3 separate regions of the Homo sapiens genome follow, and all the other regions are linked to region 1. The links are contacts of gene promoters, found by promoter capture Hi-C in blood cells and fetal thymus (Javierre and others, 2016). All regions are on one chromosome and are shown on one strand. The core of a region is centred on a gene start or on the middle of the fragment in contact, and the rest is flanking DNA. Distances in the headings are between cores, read along the strand shown. Region 1 holds the start of MED6 (mediator complex subunit 6). Region 2 has its middle 8.9 kb from the start of PCNX1. Region 3 has its middle 27 kb from the start of PCNX1.

The links. The method cuts DNA at HindIII sites, captures the fragments that hold promoters and counts their contacts. A CHiCAGO score of 5 or more calls a contact.
Region 2: a fragment that was not itself captured here is called in contact with the fragment with the promoter of MED6 in region 1 in 1 of 17 cell types (naive CD4 T cells); the score reaches 5.9 in naive CD4 T cells.
Region 3: a fragment that was not itself captured here is called in contact with the fragment with the promoter of MED6 in region 1 in 3 of 17 cell types (naive CD4 T cells, total CD8 T cells and total B cells); the score reaches 5.7 in naive CD4 T cells.

The regions. Positions count from the first base shown.
Region 1 is chr14:70,597,793-70,602,801 of GRCh38, reverse strand. MED6 (mediator complex subunit 6) reads left to right here and starts at 2,147. Exons shown (of 8, transcript NM_005466.4): 1 at 2,147-2,186. The coding sequence starts at 2,165. RefSeq lists an enhancer at 1,446-2,645. The HindIII fragment of the contact is 992 bases long and covers 1,301-2,292 here.
Region 2 is chr14:70,896,054-70,901,062 of GRCh38, reverse strand. No RefSeq gene overlaps it. Among named protein-coding and RNA genes, the nearest start is that of PCNX1, 8.9 kb to the left of the region's middle. The HindIII fragment of the contact is 1,496 bases long and covers 1,706-3,201 here.
Region 3 is chr14:70,878,256-70,883,264 of GRCh38, reverse strand. No RefSeq gene overlaps it. Among named protein-coding and RNA genes, the nearest start is that of PCNX1, 27 kb to the left of the region's middle. The HindIII fragment of the contact is 2,373 bases long and covers 837-3,209 here.

The sequences.
Region 1 (5,009 bases), core at 898-3,397:
CGTCAAAGTGCTTAGCACAGTGCCTCGTCCATAGTAAGTGGCTCAATAAGCACAACAAATACTTTTGACATCCATAAACAAATTTCCAGTCAGAACCTTTGTGGCATTCTACTCATTCAAATCTTTTAATAGCTTCCTATGTTCTTTGAATAAAAAATAAATTATTGACCAGGCTCTCTATCATCTGGCCCCTGCCTTCATTCCCAGTCTCTTTTCCCATCATTCATCCTTCACTCATACAACCCGGCTTACACTGGCCTTTCTGTGGTTCTCAGACCAACCCCTTTCCCACTGTAGGGTCCATGGTCCCCTCTGTCTGATATGCTTGTGCCCCAGCTCTTCACATGAGTGATTTGCTTTCATCTTCCAGGTCTCATCTCAGGTATCACTTCCTCAGAGAGGCCTGTCCTGACTGTCCTACCCAAAGTGGCTTCCTCCCTATCTTGTCTTCTCTTGTTTTTGTTACCACACTTTTTAATTTATATTTCTTTATTAACTGAAACAATTAATATAAAAGAAATAGAGATGGGATCTCGCTATCTTGACCAGGCTGGTCTCCAGCTCCTGGGCTCAAGCAATCCTCCCATCTTGGCCTCCCAAAGTGCTGGGATTACAGGCGTGAGCCACCTTGCCCTGTCTTCCTCAAGTTATCTTTCTAAAATGGAAGCTTGATCACATTTCTCCCATTGCCTACAAAATAAAGGTTGAGCTTCCAGGTCTTATTTACCATGCATACCATATGTTTTATTATCTACAGATCTGCATTCTGTCACTATTCTTCCTAATCTCCTTCTAGCCTAATCAAAACACAAGGAAACAAAAAACTAGAAAAACAAAACAAAAAGCTTTATGGATCACACTTTTTATTGGACACGATACTCTTCCTTTTTGCAATGTCCTCCCACTAGGCTCCCAACCAGGCCCTCCTGAAAAATTCTCTCTCAAAACTTTACTCTGTGCATGCACATACTTCTGTTGGGACACCTATTTTATACATACCATCTCAGGCAGAAAATTCCCAAACTGAAATGTACAGGCAACGTACTTTTATTCTACGGAGTTAACAAATTTTTAATTCCTTGTCTATGAGGTTGAAAATCCCAATTAAATTTCTGGTCTTCCCCTCTTGCTCCTGGGTTGTGGTTAAATTCTTGGGGAGTCTTCACAGTACCTAAGTTTTGGAGAAGATGTAGGCACCCGCCCTCATCCCTCCTTCAGATTTTGGCATCCTCTTCCTAGTATCTGTGTGTTGTTTGCATATTTCTGTATCGTTTTGCTTTTACAGAGCCACACTGAAGCTTGAGAATCTGAGGCTTTCTGTAGCTTCCCCGTACACAGAATCATTCCCTCTTTGGAGCCTTGCTACCTACTCCAGACTACTTGGAATGCAGACATTTGCTCATTACTCTGGGACCCAGGGGTATTCCCTTTCTCTTAATCTTATTAATATTTCACTTCAGAAGCATTTCCTGTGTTGTGAAATTTTTCTCAGAGGCTTCTTTAATTGGTTTAGATTTTTAATGGATTTAGTCACATAAAAGCCAATGACTCCCAAATTCTTAAGTCCTGTCCCATCCCAATACCTGAGGCAGGGAGAAAAATATAAATGACCATCGTTCCTAAATCTGATAGCTCAGTGGATACACCCGGGGAGCTTTTAAAATTAAGAGACACTCCCAAGCACAACTCTACAGCATCAGAATTTGTTTTCTTGACGATCACAGACGATCAAGGCAGAATTCTTCCATCAGTGGTGGGCGTGGGGCGGGACTCCACTCGGTCTTTCTGTCCTCTAAGTCTTCTAATTTTTTTCCCAGTAATCCGCCCTCCCGTTCTCCTTCTTTGGCCCATCCCTCTTCTAGTCTTTCCCTGCTCCCCTGCACCAATCTTTCTGCGTCCCGTCCCCTCCCATTCCCCTACCCCACCCCACCCCACCCCACCCCACGTTTCCCGCCTCCCGCGCCTCTCCCGCTTTCCGCCCCCTCGCGTCTCCTCCCCTCCCACCCGCACCTCCACCCCCTGCCTCTCTCCTGCCCGCCCCGCCCCCTCTTCCGCTCTACGTCCCTCCTCACCCATGCGCACTCTCTTCAACCCGCTGCTTCCGGCGGCCTAGGCTTACGTTTACTTTGCGCCGGAAAGAGAACCTGTAAACGCTCTCGGAATTATGGCGGCGGTGGATATCCGAGGTATACTGTATTGCTATATTTTGTCTCTTGATTGTCTGTGGACCAGTTTGGGATGTTATAGCTCGCGGTTTCAAGGTTTAGGTTCCTTTGTGTGAAGTCTCAAGCTTTTTTGAGTGGTTTTTGTGGACAACCCAAGGCTGTGATCTAGCGAAACGTTGACGAGTTTTTTTTTTTTTCTGAGTTCTTGGAGCGTCTCTTGGAAGCGTCGGAGAGAAGGGGTTGGAAGAAGCTCTGGGTTTTGAGCTTTCAGAGCTGGAGTTTTGTTCTACACACGTATCTCTGCAACAACATTAGGGCTATTCTATTGGAGTGAAGGAATGGCGTTTAGGCAGAGAAGGGAATGGGGTAATAAGCCAACTTGATTTGATTCATCTCTTGGGACTTGGCATGGTGGCTGCCTAATTCTTTAGACCGCGCCACACGGGTCCCTGAGCATGAATCCCAGATATTTTCTTTTTTTTTGAGTCGATAATACTTTACATCGAACGTCCAGCAATTATTATGGGCAGGGGTCGTATTTTTTTCACAGCTGAACTGCAGAAGTACTCAAATATTGAATCAGTCAGTGAATAAATGTATGGAGATGTCACCCCTTAACTGCTGCTTGATCTTGGGGAGCATGTAGAGTTGTTTTTGTGTATATAGTACTTGATTTTTAAAGGGAGATGTTTGAGATGCCTTTTTTTAATATTAACTGGATTGGGGTCTAACACATTTATTACAAATATTCTCATTTATACTTATCTGGCGATCTGCAGCACTTCTGGATCATGATTTTACATACGTGTCTTTCATTATTTATTTCATCACTTGCTGATGGTTAGAATGCTGTTAGAATGCTTGGGCTATGTCAACATGTTGCCTTGCTACAGAATAAAAAAGAGAAATATTTAGTTTATAAAATGTTTTACTTATAATTCAGATTGTTAGGATCATGGCAAAGACTCTAAAATAAGAGTGTGTTTGGTGTGTTAAAGGAACAGCAAGGAGGTCAGTGTGGCTGGAGGGTAGTGAGAGAGGATGTGGGAAGGAGATGAAGTCAGAAAGGTGTTGAAAGCTATGATAAGGTCTTTGGCTTTTCCTCTGAGTAAAACGCAGAGCCATTGGAGGGGTTTCCATCAGAGGAATGATGTGATCTGACTTTTTTTTAGGACTACATTGGCTGCTGGGAACAGTGTAGGAGGGCAAGGGTAGAATTAGGAAAACCAGTTAGGAGGCCATTTCTGAAAATGTTATTTCCTGGCCTGTTGTGTATTTGGTTATTGCATGATCCAGTTATGATGAACTATCTAAATGGTCTATACTAATTATTTGGTTATTAACGCACTTCATCTGTCTCCTCCTTTATTTTATAGCACACAAAGTACATTTTACCTTTATATAATTTTTCTCGGTTGAGTCACTTGGCTCAAAACTGCCTGTCACCTTGAATTAGGTCTGACTTCTTTGAAGATGCCTGAGGTAATGACAGTATAAGAGAGATTGAAGTTTTTCAACCAGTATTGTATAGGCATTTTGATGTTCATGATTTACACCTAGTGGTGTTCAGTACAGTCAGTGGTATGAAGCATCATGAAAGCCAATAGCCAATACAAGCTCATTTATTAAAAGTATCTAGCTCTATCATGTCTTTTTAAAAGCTATGATTTAATTCTACGCTAAATATGAAACCGTGTGGCTGTAGTTAAGGGAACTCTACTTCCTGTTTATCCCTTAGCTTTTACATCATTATCATCTCATCTACAATAATAGCTTCCTAACTTCTCTATCCCTAATTGAGAGATCTCAAACTGGTAGCTATAGATGTGTTCTCTTGGGCATACATGTTATTTGAAAATTTTGAATTCCTTGCCAGCATTAAGGATTTCCAATAAAAAAAAAAGTCCTTTCTAAATTTTAAATCTTATCACTTCTTCACCTAATGAAATTATTCTCTAAAGATATAATATACTTTATATTTTTACACCTCTGTATATACATTCTCTCTGCTTGGAATTACTTTGCCCTTTTCTCTGTGTAAGTTTTTATTTATTCTTTAACATACCGTGCTAAAACCCACCTTCTCTCCACATGAAAAATGATTTTCGTTTCCCCAGGTCCTCTGTAGTCTCGTAACACATTTCTTCATGTCTTTTTTTTTTGAGACGGAGTCTCGCTCTGTCGCCCAGGCTGGAGTGCAGTGGCGCGATCTCAGCTCACTGCAACCTCCGCCTCTTGGGTCCAAGTGATTCTCCTGCCACAGCCTCCCGAGTAGCTAGGATTACAGGTGTCCACCACCATGCCCGGCTAATTTTTTGTTTTGTTTTTTTTCTTTTTTTGAGACGGAGTTTCACTCTTGTTGCTCAGGCTGGAGTCCAATGGTGTGATCTCGTCTCACCACAATCTCCGAGACCTTCTGGGTGCAAGCGATTCTCCTGTCTCAGTCTCCCAAGTAGCTGGGATTATGGGCATGCACAAACACGCCAGGCTAATTTTGTATTTTTAGTAGAGACGGGGTTTCTCCATGTTGGTCAGGCTGGTCTCAAACTCCCAACCTCAGGTGATCCACCTACCTCAGCCCCCTAAAGTGCTGGCATTACAGGCTGAGCCACCGCACCCGGCCAGAATTTTTTGTATTTTTAGTAGAGACAGGGTTTCACCATGTCTTTATCATAAGACTTAATCATGTTATTGCTTTCTTGCATAATCTCTTCTGTTACATCATGAGAGTGTGTTGGTTAGGATCTATGTCATCCTTATATTCATAGTGCCTACTACATTTGATGTATAATAAATGTTTGTTGGATTGGATTCTTTCTATTTTTCTAATCCTTTATCATTTTG
Region 2 (5,009 bases), core at 1,204-3,703, 300 kb before region 1:
TCAACATTTCCTTCCTGTAAACTCATTATATTTTTAGGTCCTATGACAAGTGTTTCTCAATGTGTATATAGTCCATGAATGACCCCAAGTCAAAATCTTCTATTAAACACAGAATCCCAGCCAGGTGCGGTGGCTCACGCCTGTAATCCCAGCACTTTGGGAGGCCAAGACGGGCGGATCACGAGGTCAGGAGATTGAGACTATCCTGGCTAACACGGTGAAACCCCATCTCTATTAAAAATACAAAAAATTAGCTGGGCATAGTGGCACATGCCTGTAGTCCCAGCTACTCGGGAGACTGAGGCAGGAGAATGGCATGAACCCAGGAGGCGGAGCTTGCAGTGAGCCGAGATCGTGCCACTGCACTCCAGCCTGGGTGACAGAGCAAGACTCCATCTCAAAAAAAAAAAAAAAAAAAAACATAATCCTAGAGCCAGGTGCCATGGTGCACGCTGATATTCCAGCTACTTGGGAGGTTGAGACGGCATGATCACTTGAGCCCAGGAAGGTGAGACCAGCCGAGGCAACATAATGAGACAATATCTCCAAAAACAAAGAAACAAACATATAATCTAAGTTATGGTGCTTTATACATAGGGTACTGAAAAACTCCCTCAGTGTTGGGTATCTCTGAAATAAAGAATTAGTATAAACATCTATTGTTTTCTATCTTTTGATATTAAAAGATAGAATTCCAAGCAGCCAATAGAATACTGAAGTATCTTTTAATGAACTAATAAGGATTGATCTTTAAAATATATGGTGAAGTGGCTGGGTGCCGTGGCTCACGCCTGTAATCCTAGCACTCTGGGAGGCTGAGGCAGGCAGATCGCTTGAGCTCAGGAGTTCAAGACCAGCCTGGACAACATGGTGAAACCACATCCCTACCAAAAAAAAAAAAATACAAAAAATTAGCTGGGTGTCATGGTGCATGCCTGCAGTCCCAGCTACCTGGGTGGCTGAGGTGCAAGGATCATGTGAGCCCAAGAGGTCCAGACTGCAGTGAGCTGAGATCATGCCACTGCACCCAAGCCTGGGTGACAAAGTGAGATCCTGTCTCAAAAAAAAAAAAAAAAAAAAAAAAATATATATATATATATATATATATATATGTGGAAAAAAGTATATAACAGCACTTGTCATAAGAGAAAAGAATGTATTTTATGTGATTATCTGTGTACTGAATGTCCCTAGCAGAACATGTGAGAAAATGGCAGCAGGAATTGCCACAGGGGTGAGAGACCTTACTTTTGATTGTATATCTTTTCTCTTAATGAATTTTACATTATGCACATGTTATCCTTTTTTTTTTTTCTTTTGAGACACAGTCTCACCCTGTCACCCAGGCTGGAGTGCAGTGTCAGACCCCTCAATCTCCGCCTCCTGGGTTCAAGCCATTCTTGTGCCTCAGCCTCTCGAGTAGCTGGGGTTACAGGCAGGCACCACCACACCCAGCTAATTTTAGTAGAATCAGGGTTTCACCATGTTGGCCAGCCTGGTCTCAAACTCCTGACCTCAAATGATCTGGCCACCTTGGCCTCCCAAAGTACTGGGATTACAGGCCTGAGCCACTGCTCGTGGCCTGTGTTACCAATTTTTAAAAAGTAATAACCTGGTGGAGAAAGCCGATTCCTATCTTGTACCCAAGACTTGCTAAATTGAAATCTCTCACATGGAGCCTGGAGACGTGCATTTTTAACAAGCTTCTTTATTCTTCTGCAAACTGGTATTGAGAAGCACTGTCCTTGGCCTTTCCTTTTTAAACACTTCTTTCCTCTTTTTTTCCTCTGAACTTCCTACCATCACCACCACCACCTCTTCTCCTCCCTCATTTCCTCATCCATGGTGGATCTCATAGTTTTGCAATTCAATCATTCCACAGCTAGTGATTTTTCACTCTTTTCTCCCCAACCTTGCCATCGGCCAAAACCATGGCACTGGATGGATTTGCTTTCTCTGCCACCAGCATGCAGGCTAGCACTTTCCAGGTTGTGACCCTAACTGTTACCTGGAGTCCTCCTGGCAGTTCTCCAGTTCTCACTCAGCACTTCTTGTGTCTTTATTAATGACTTTTAAAATCTCACCAACGTCTTTCATACAACCCACACCACCCTCTCTCCCACAGAAAACATAGAGGGTATCAGACAGTAATTCCTCAGTTTCCTGCCCCCCCAACTTATAAATTTATTCATATGTACAGTCATCCTTTGTTTTCTTTTTTCCTTTTAAGGTGTTGTTCTGCCTAAGAAAATGGCTTCACCTGTGCTCTCCACCCCACCACCTAAACCCTACTGGGTTTGTTAACCTTGGTCCCTCAGGTACCACCAGCTTTTCCTTTCTGCTGGCACTTTCCTCCAGCCCAGAAACAGGCACTCTTATCCTCAGGGCTACTTCCTCCTCTCCCTCACAGCCAACTTTCTTAAGAGTGAAACAGTGTCTTTCACCTGCCTTGACCTTCGCTGTCATCCCTGCTTCTGCCCACATCATCAATGATTTCCTAGTTGCCATATCCAGCAGGCATTTTTCAGTCCCCGGCTTATTTAATCTCTTTGCTTCCAGGTCACTGCTCCTTCTTCCTGGTTTCCTCCTCTCTAATTACCCTAGACTTGAGTCTCCTTTATGGAATCCTCATCTTCCCTCTACTTCTCAGGATTGTCAGAAAATAAATAAGGGGGAAAAATCCCATCATCCACTTCAGGATTCTTTTTGATCCAGAAGATGATGAGACAGCCTCCCAACCTGAATTATGTAGTGACCCTCAGCCTGTGGAATGACTAGGAAATGAAAACAAATTCCTTATGAGGGGTGATTAGAAATATGACACCTCAAAAATATTGTGAAAAATCATGGTCTGAAGAACAGAAAAATGAGCTCTGCTTTAAACATGACAACTGTATTCTAAATTTGCTTTTTGGGTTTTGTTTTAAATCCCTCAGTCCTAATAGCCTCGAGTTTACTAGGAATTCTTAAATTTCCTAATCTCTAATTTATGCAGAGGTTTTATGAGCATGTATTTATTTATCTATCCACTCTTCCTTTGGACTTGTATTTTGAAAACCTGACAACTTATTGAGAGTTTGCTTGGGCCAGCCTCTCCACCATTTTACATCCAATTGGTCTTTTGTATTTAGTTTTTCATCCTAAAAGTAACACATTCATGGTATTTTTATCTGAGAAAATATAGGAAAGAGAGAGAAAGCTTTGTTAATAGGCCCACTGCCCAATCACAACCAGTGTAAATGTGTGATAACTTTTGTCCTGGTCTCTCCAGCCCTTCCTCCCTCTGCTTCTGTACTATATTCTAATTGGAGTTCAGAGCCTGATTTGGAAAGTTTTTATATCAACACATGCCATGTGCTTTGGCAGTTTGCTAAGTCTGAGAAACTTCAGAGACATTTTTTCCTTCTGACTTACCCATGTGTTTCACTTAGATTCTTGGAAACATTCTCTGTGCTACATGGCTACTAGCCTGCAGTTTCAAGTAACAGAAAATTCTATACAAACTCACATCGACAATAAGGAAAATGATCACTTCATACAACTGGAAGTCCAGGAGGCAAGCAGGCTTCAGGAGCAGCTGAATTTCGTGGCTCTGGATCTCTCTCTCTGCAATGCCCTGTGATGACCTATGTGTGTTGGCTTTGGCCTTGGGTGGCTTCTCTCATGGAGGCAAAATGGCTATAGCCATTACAGGTTTCACATAGCGATGCCATCAATTAGAAGTTCACCTAAGAGCAAGGAAATTTCCCTCCCAGGAACTTCCAACATACTTTTGGTTACATCCCTATTCTTGAGTTAATCCCTGTCCTCAGGGCACTGCCATACACTGACTCATTCTAGCCTGGGTTCCTGAACCAATTACTGCCCAGGGGAATGGAATTACCCTTAGATCAGTCAGTCCCAAATGTGAACTGAGGCTTAGGGGATATGCTGGGAGGGATAAATGCCTACATAAAACTGGACTGTGTCAGGAATCAGAGAGGAAGAATAGATGTTGAATGCCTGTTTCAGAACACCGTCATCAACAAAGCATGTTGTCAGATTTTTGGATCTTTGGTAATTTGATAATTGAAAAACGATGTCTCCATGTAGCTTTAATTTGAATTTCTCTATTGTGAGTGAGGCTGAGCCACTTGCATGTGCCTAGGAGTCATGTGTACTTTTTTTCCTCAGGTCTTGCCTGTTCATATTCTCTGCCCATTTTTCTTTTCTTTTTTTAAATTTTAACTCTTATTTCAGATTCAGGGGGTACATGTGCAGGTTTGTTACAAGAATATATTTCCTGTTACTGCAGTTTGGTATATGATTGAGCCTGTCACCCAGGTAGTGAGCATAGTACCCAATAGTTTTGCAACACTTGCCCCTCTTCCTTCCTTCCCCCCTTATAGTCCCCAGTGTCTATAGTTCTTGTCTTTATGTCCATGTGTACTCAATGTTTAGCTCCCACTTATAAGTGAGAATATGTGGTATTTGGTGTTCTGTTTCTGCATTAGTTGGCAGCTGTATCCATGTTGCTTAAAAGGACATGATTTCATTCTTTTTCGTGGCTGTGTAGTATTCCATGGTGTATACATAGCACATTTTCTTTATCTAGTCACTGTTGGTGTCTTTGTCCATTTTTCTATTGCATTGTAGGTCTTTGCTTTCTTATTTGTAGAAGCTCATTATATGTTAGGGAAGTTGGTCTTTGGTCTATAATAGAGCTAGGCATATTTTTGCAATTTGTCATTTTTTGGCTATGTTTATGGCTTTTTCTATGCAGAAAATTTTGATGTTGAAAGATTGAATGTATTAATCTTTTCTTGTATAATTCTGGATTTAATGTCATCATTAGAAATGCCTTCTCCACTTTAAGGTGAATAACTCTCTTTTAGTTTCTTCTAATACCATGATGATATCATTTTATGAATTTAAATATTAATATCTACTTGGACTTTATCCAGGTCAGGTGTAAGGAATAAATTCAACTTTGATATTTTTCTCATTTGATTGACTTTCATTTTACACTG
Region 3 (5,009 bases), core at 774-3,273, 280 kb before region 1:
GGTCCCAATTGGCCTTGGCCTGCCTACCCCAGACCCATTCACTAGCAACGGGGATGGGGGTGGGGTTCACATCACTCAGGACCCACCCTAGAGCTGCAGTAGAACCTGTGATGGAGAGTCACTCCAACACCCCTTACACAGCAGACAGTTTTATGGGGGCCACTCCAATGAAAGGTTGGCTCTTAGGACCTTCTCATTTTAGACACGCAGTAAACAATGAAAAACATGTCATCCAAGAGATCTCATTGTCACGGATCTTACAATATATCTCTTGCCTAAGAGTCTTCCGGTGTTTCTTGTGCAAATCCAGCGGTTAGTCAACAGGGTTTATGGAACACATGCTGTTTAGATAGTGTTACTCTAAGCACTGTACAAAGTTAGAAAAACAAGACAATGCAGCTACTTAAAAAAAATTTTTTTTAGAGACAAGGTCTTGCTCTGTTGCCCAGGTTAGCTTCAAACTCCTGGGCTCAAGCAATCCTCCTACATCAGCCTCCTTAGTCACTGGGATTATAGGCGTGTGCTGCACTGCCTGGCTTATTTTTTTTTTAACAGTAGAATGAGCATTGAGGAAAGTAGTTCTCTTCTGTTAATTCTGCTCCGTTATTTTCCAGAGTGTAGAAACTGCTTGATTTCCTTCCTCCTTTCTTTGTCCCCTCTTATTCAGCTCTCTCTTTCCTGTCACTAATTTTCTCCTTTCTTATTCTTTCCTCATTTCAGGAAAGCAACATAGCGGAGATTAGGAGTGTAGAATCTGGAGTTAGATTTCTTGGGTGGGAATTCTCACTTTGAGTTCTAGCTGTGACTTTCCAGCCGTTACTTCATTTCTCTAAGCTTCTTTTCACTGGTAAATCATGTCTAAACATTATGCCTACCTCCTTGGGTTATTCTCGAATTTTAAAAATGATGCACATTAAAAATGATTACTAATGGTTAATGATTTTAATTTTCTTCTTCATCTTTTTTTAATTATGCCACATTTTGTGTCCTGTTCCTCCCTCCTACATCCCACAGTGATAGGCTGATAGAAAATAGTCAGAAATAGAGTGCACAGAATCAACTTCCTAGTGAGAAATGGAATGGAACCATTTCAGTTCCTTCTCTTTTCTTCATTATACTTCGAGTATTTAAAGAGTGCTATGTGAATACATTTAAGGCAATGGAAATGTACAAAACCAGTTGAGAGGAACACATATGTGGTACATATGGAAGCGGAAGTATGAATGCTCTGTTCTGCATAAGAATCCCCCAGCTCTCAGTTGCTTCATCGAGGCCTGGTTTGTTCAATTGGTTAGAGCACCTTCTGATGTAACCAAGATCACGGTTTCAATTCCAGAATGTGGTGAGCCTACTTTATCTATTTGATGGCTACAGCCTCCTCTGCTGAACCTGGCAACCATCTGTAAATGCATCCATTGTTTAGAAAATGATCAATCAGAGGAGCCCGGTTGAAGCAATGCAAATCAATCACCTTACTAGGAAACAACACGACAACAGAAAGTACATGCTATCATGGTGGTGGGTTAACTGTATGATGTTTGTACATGAAGAAGGCATAGACCATGACATCATTATAGAGTTCATGGAAAACAAATAGGTTTGAAGCTATAGGTTCCACAGCAATTCACAGCCTATAAAAAAGATTACTGCTACGTCCCTTGTTTTTAAGGCCCCCAGCTCTTCTTAGAGACCATTTAGAGAATAACTGCCTGTTCCTCTAGACTAGACTCAATTGCTAGAAGTATCTCATATGGGAAGACTTTCCTGACATCTTGTTCTCCTCTTCTCAACTTAATTTCTCTCCAACCTCCACCCCTTCTAGAATTATGTGCTCTCTTTACTATGCTCCTTTTATGTCACATAATGATGGTTACTATCTAAGTCAGCTTAGGCTGCCATAGCATAACATGTTATGGCACTGGGTGACATAATACCCAGTCTATGTTATGGATTGGGTGGCTTAAACAACAAAAATTTATTTTCTGACATGTCTGGAGGCTGGAAGTATGAGTATCAAGGTCCCAGCACGGTCAGGTTCCTGTAAGGACTCTCTCCTTGGCTTGTAGATGGCTGCCTTCCCTCTGTGTCCTCACATGGTGGAGAGAGAGAGAGAGAGAGAGAGAGAGAGAGAGAGGGAGAGAGAGAGAGAGAGAGAGAGAGAGAGACTGCAAGCTGTCTGCTATCTCCTCTCATAAGGGTACTAATCCCATTATGAGGACTAATATGGTTTGGATGTTTGTGCCATCCCAATCTCTTGTTGAAATGTGATTCTCAGTGTTGGATGTGGGGCCTGGTGGGAGGTGATTGGATCATGGGGGTGGATCCCTCATGAATGGCTTAGCACCATCCCCTTGATGATAAGTAAGCTCTTGCTCTGAGTTCATGTGATATCTGGTCATTTAAAAGTGGATGGAGGCTAGGTGCGGTGGCTCACACCTATAATCCCAGCACTTTGGGAGGCCGAGGCAGGCAGATCACAAGGTCAGGAGTTCAAGACCAGCCTGGCCAATATGATGAAACCCCGTCTCTACTAAAAATACAAAAATTAGCCAGGGATGGTGGCGGGTGCCTGTAGTCCCAGCTACTCAGGAGGCTGAGACAGGAGAATCACTTGAACCGGGGAGGCAGAGCTTGCAGTGAGCTGAGATCGCGCCACTGTACTCCAGCCTGGGTGACAGAGCGAGACTCCATCTCAAAATGATAATAATAACAATAATAATAAGTGAAAGTGTATGGCACTGTCCTCCTCTCTCTTGCTCCCACTCCCACCATGTGATGTGCCGGCTCCTCTTCCTTTCTGCCATGATTTTAACTTCCTGAGGCCCTCACCAGAAGCAAATGCCAGCTCCATGCTTCCTATACAGCCTGCGGAATGGTAAGCCAAATAAGCCAAATACCCCTCTTTTCTTTATAAATTATCCACAACTTCATGTATTTCTTTATGGCCACACAAGAATGGCCTCGTACAAGAACCTATCTGGTAACCTCATCTAAACCTAATTCCTTCCCAGAGGCCCCATCTCCAAATACTATCGCATTGTGGGCTTGGGTTTCAATGTATGAATTTGGGGGGACACAATTCAGTACATAACAGTTACAATTCTTTTTGCAGCAATGCATGTTACTTTGATATGAGTGATATCCATGTAACACGGAAGACACACTGATGCATACATGATTTTCCTAGCAACTTAATATCAGGGTAAGCTTTTCTACATTTGCAGAAAAAGCCTTAGCCATATATGAATACCTTCAGAACAGACTGAAATTGATAGTGCAAGTTCTGCTTGGTTTAATGGCTTTGAGTATTGCTGCCCTTTCCACCAGTTAAACTATTCGGGGAAACTAAGAGTATAATGATGGAGTTGTGAAAACATTTCCCTCTATAGATACATTGAACAAAAGAAAGAGGCTACGCCATGGATCATTCAAAAATTTTTGAAGAAAATTATCTAGATGCTGTTAAATGAAGTTTGGCCTAAAGCTGCCTCTGTATATATTTTAAGTCTGGCCTAAAGGTTTCTCCATACACAGTGAACTGTAACCTAATTTGATGCATAAACAGACTGGTAACTGAGTCTCAGCCAATCACAGCAGCCAAATTTCAGTTAACCACAGGCAGCCAACTGTTCAAACCAGGTTCAAATAAGGCAAAGGCCCCAGCTGTAGCCAATCCAGCCGTTTCTGTACCTCCCTTATGCTTTCTACAGGTCAATTTCCTTTTTCTGTCCATAAATGTTACCTAATAAATGTGGCATAAATGTGGCAGCCCTGGAGTCACTCTGAGTCTGTTTGTGTTTTGGGGACTGTTGGATTCAAGAATCTTTCTTTACTCAATTAAACTGTGTTAAATTTAATTTGCCTAAAGCTTTTCTTTTAACCAATGGCATCAGAAGCAGGATCCAAAGTAGAAAATTAGCTGGGTGTGGGAGCACGTGTCTGTAGTCCTAGCTACTAGGGAGGCTGAGGTGGGAGGATCACCTGAGCCCAGGAGTTCGAGGCTATAGTGAGCCGTGATTACACCACTGCACTCCAGCCTGGGCAACAGAATGAGACCCTGTCTCAAAACAAGAAATAAACAAACAAAAAAACCCCAAAAATGCCCACAAAGTAGAGCTTCTAATGACCCCCAGGAGGATGGAGCGACCAAGCAAGGTGCCTGCTGGGCCCACTGTGTCCACTGCTCTCTTGCAGCAACTGGGGATCCTGGACAAATTCGCTCTTAGATTCTGAAGTGCCACAAATTTGTGTTTTGAGCTATCTGAGTTTGAGCAAATTTTTTAACTGGATTCGGTTCAGAAGTCACAACAAAAACTGGACTCAGTCCAGAAGTCACAACAAAAACTGGACTCGGTCCAGGATCGAATCAGATTCGATAATTAAGTGGATTGGATCAAGTTAGAGGCCTCAGCTGTCTCGCTGGGTCAGGCGGAAACGGGTGGTAAATGGCAATTAGTGCAGGGGGTGCGAACTCCAGCTTTTGGGAATTTGCAGAGATTTTGTGTTCTATCTCCTTTGTTCCTTTTTCTTACACACTTGGGTAGGGAAAAATCATTGGCTGACTTGGCCAAGAGGATCTTAGAGCCAAAGCCAGGAATCAACATAAAAATGAGATCCTTAATTTTTGAAGAACTGAGTCCTCCACTTTCCCAGTATGCCTGCCTTTATGTATAGTATATAAGTATTAGGCACCGGAAGCAGCAAATGCTTACAAAAATGGAGAAATCTTACTAAAGATGATTTAAAATTATGGTGGAACATTCAAATGAACAACATTGTACTTTAAGAAGTGCATTTAAAAATGGGGGCTCCTGAATTAGGTTCACCAGGGATGCCTATTGATGTGCAGAAGCTTCTAAAAAAAATTTCAAAATTTGTATTGCCTCTTTTTTTAAAATTTTTTTATTTTTTTTATTTTTTTTGAGACAGAGTCTCCCTCTGTTGCCCAGGCCGGAGCGCAGTGGCGCCATCTCGGCTCACTGCAAGCTCCGCCTCCCGGGTTCACGCCA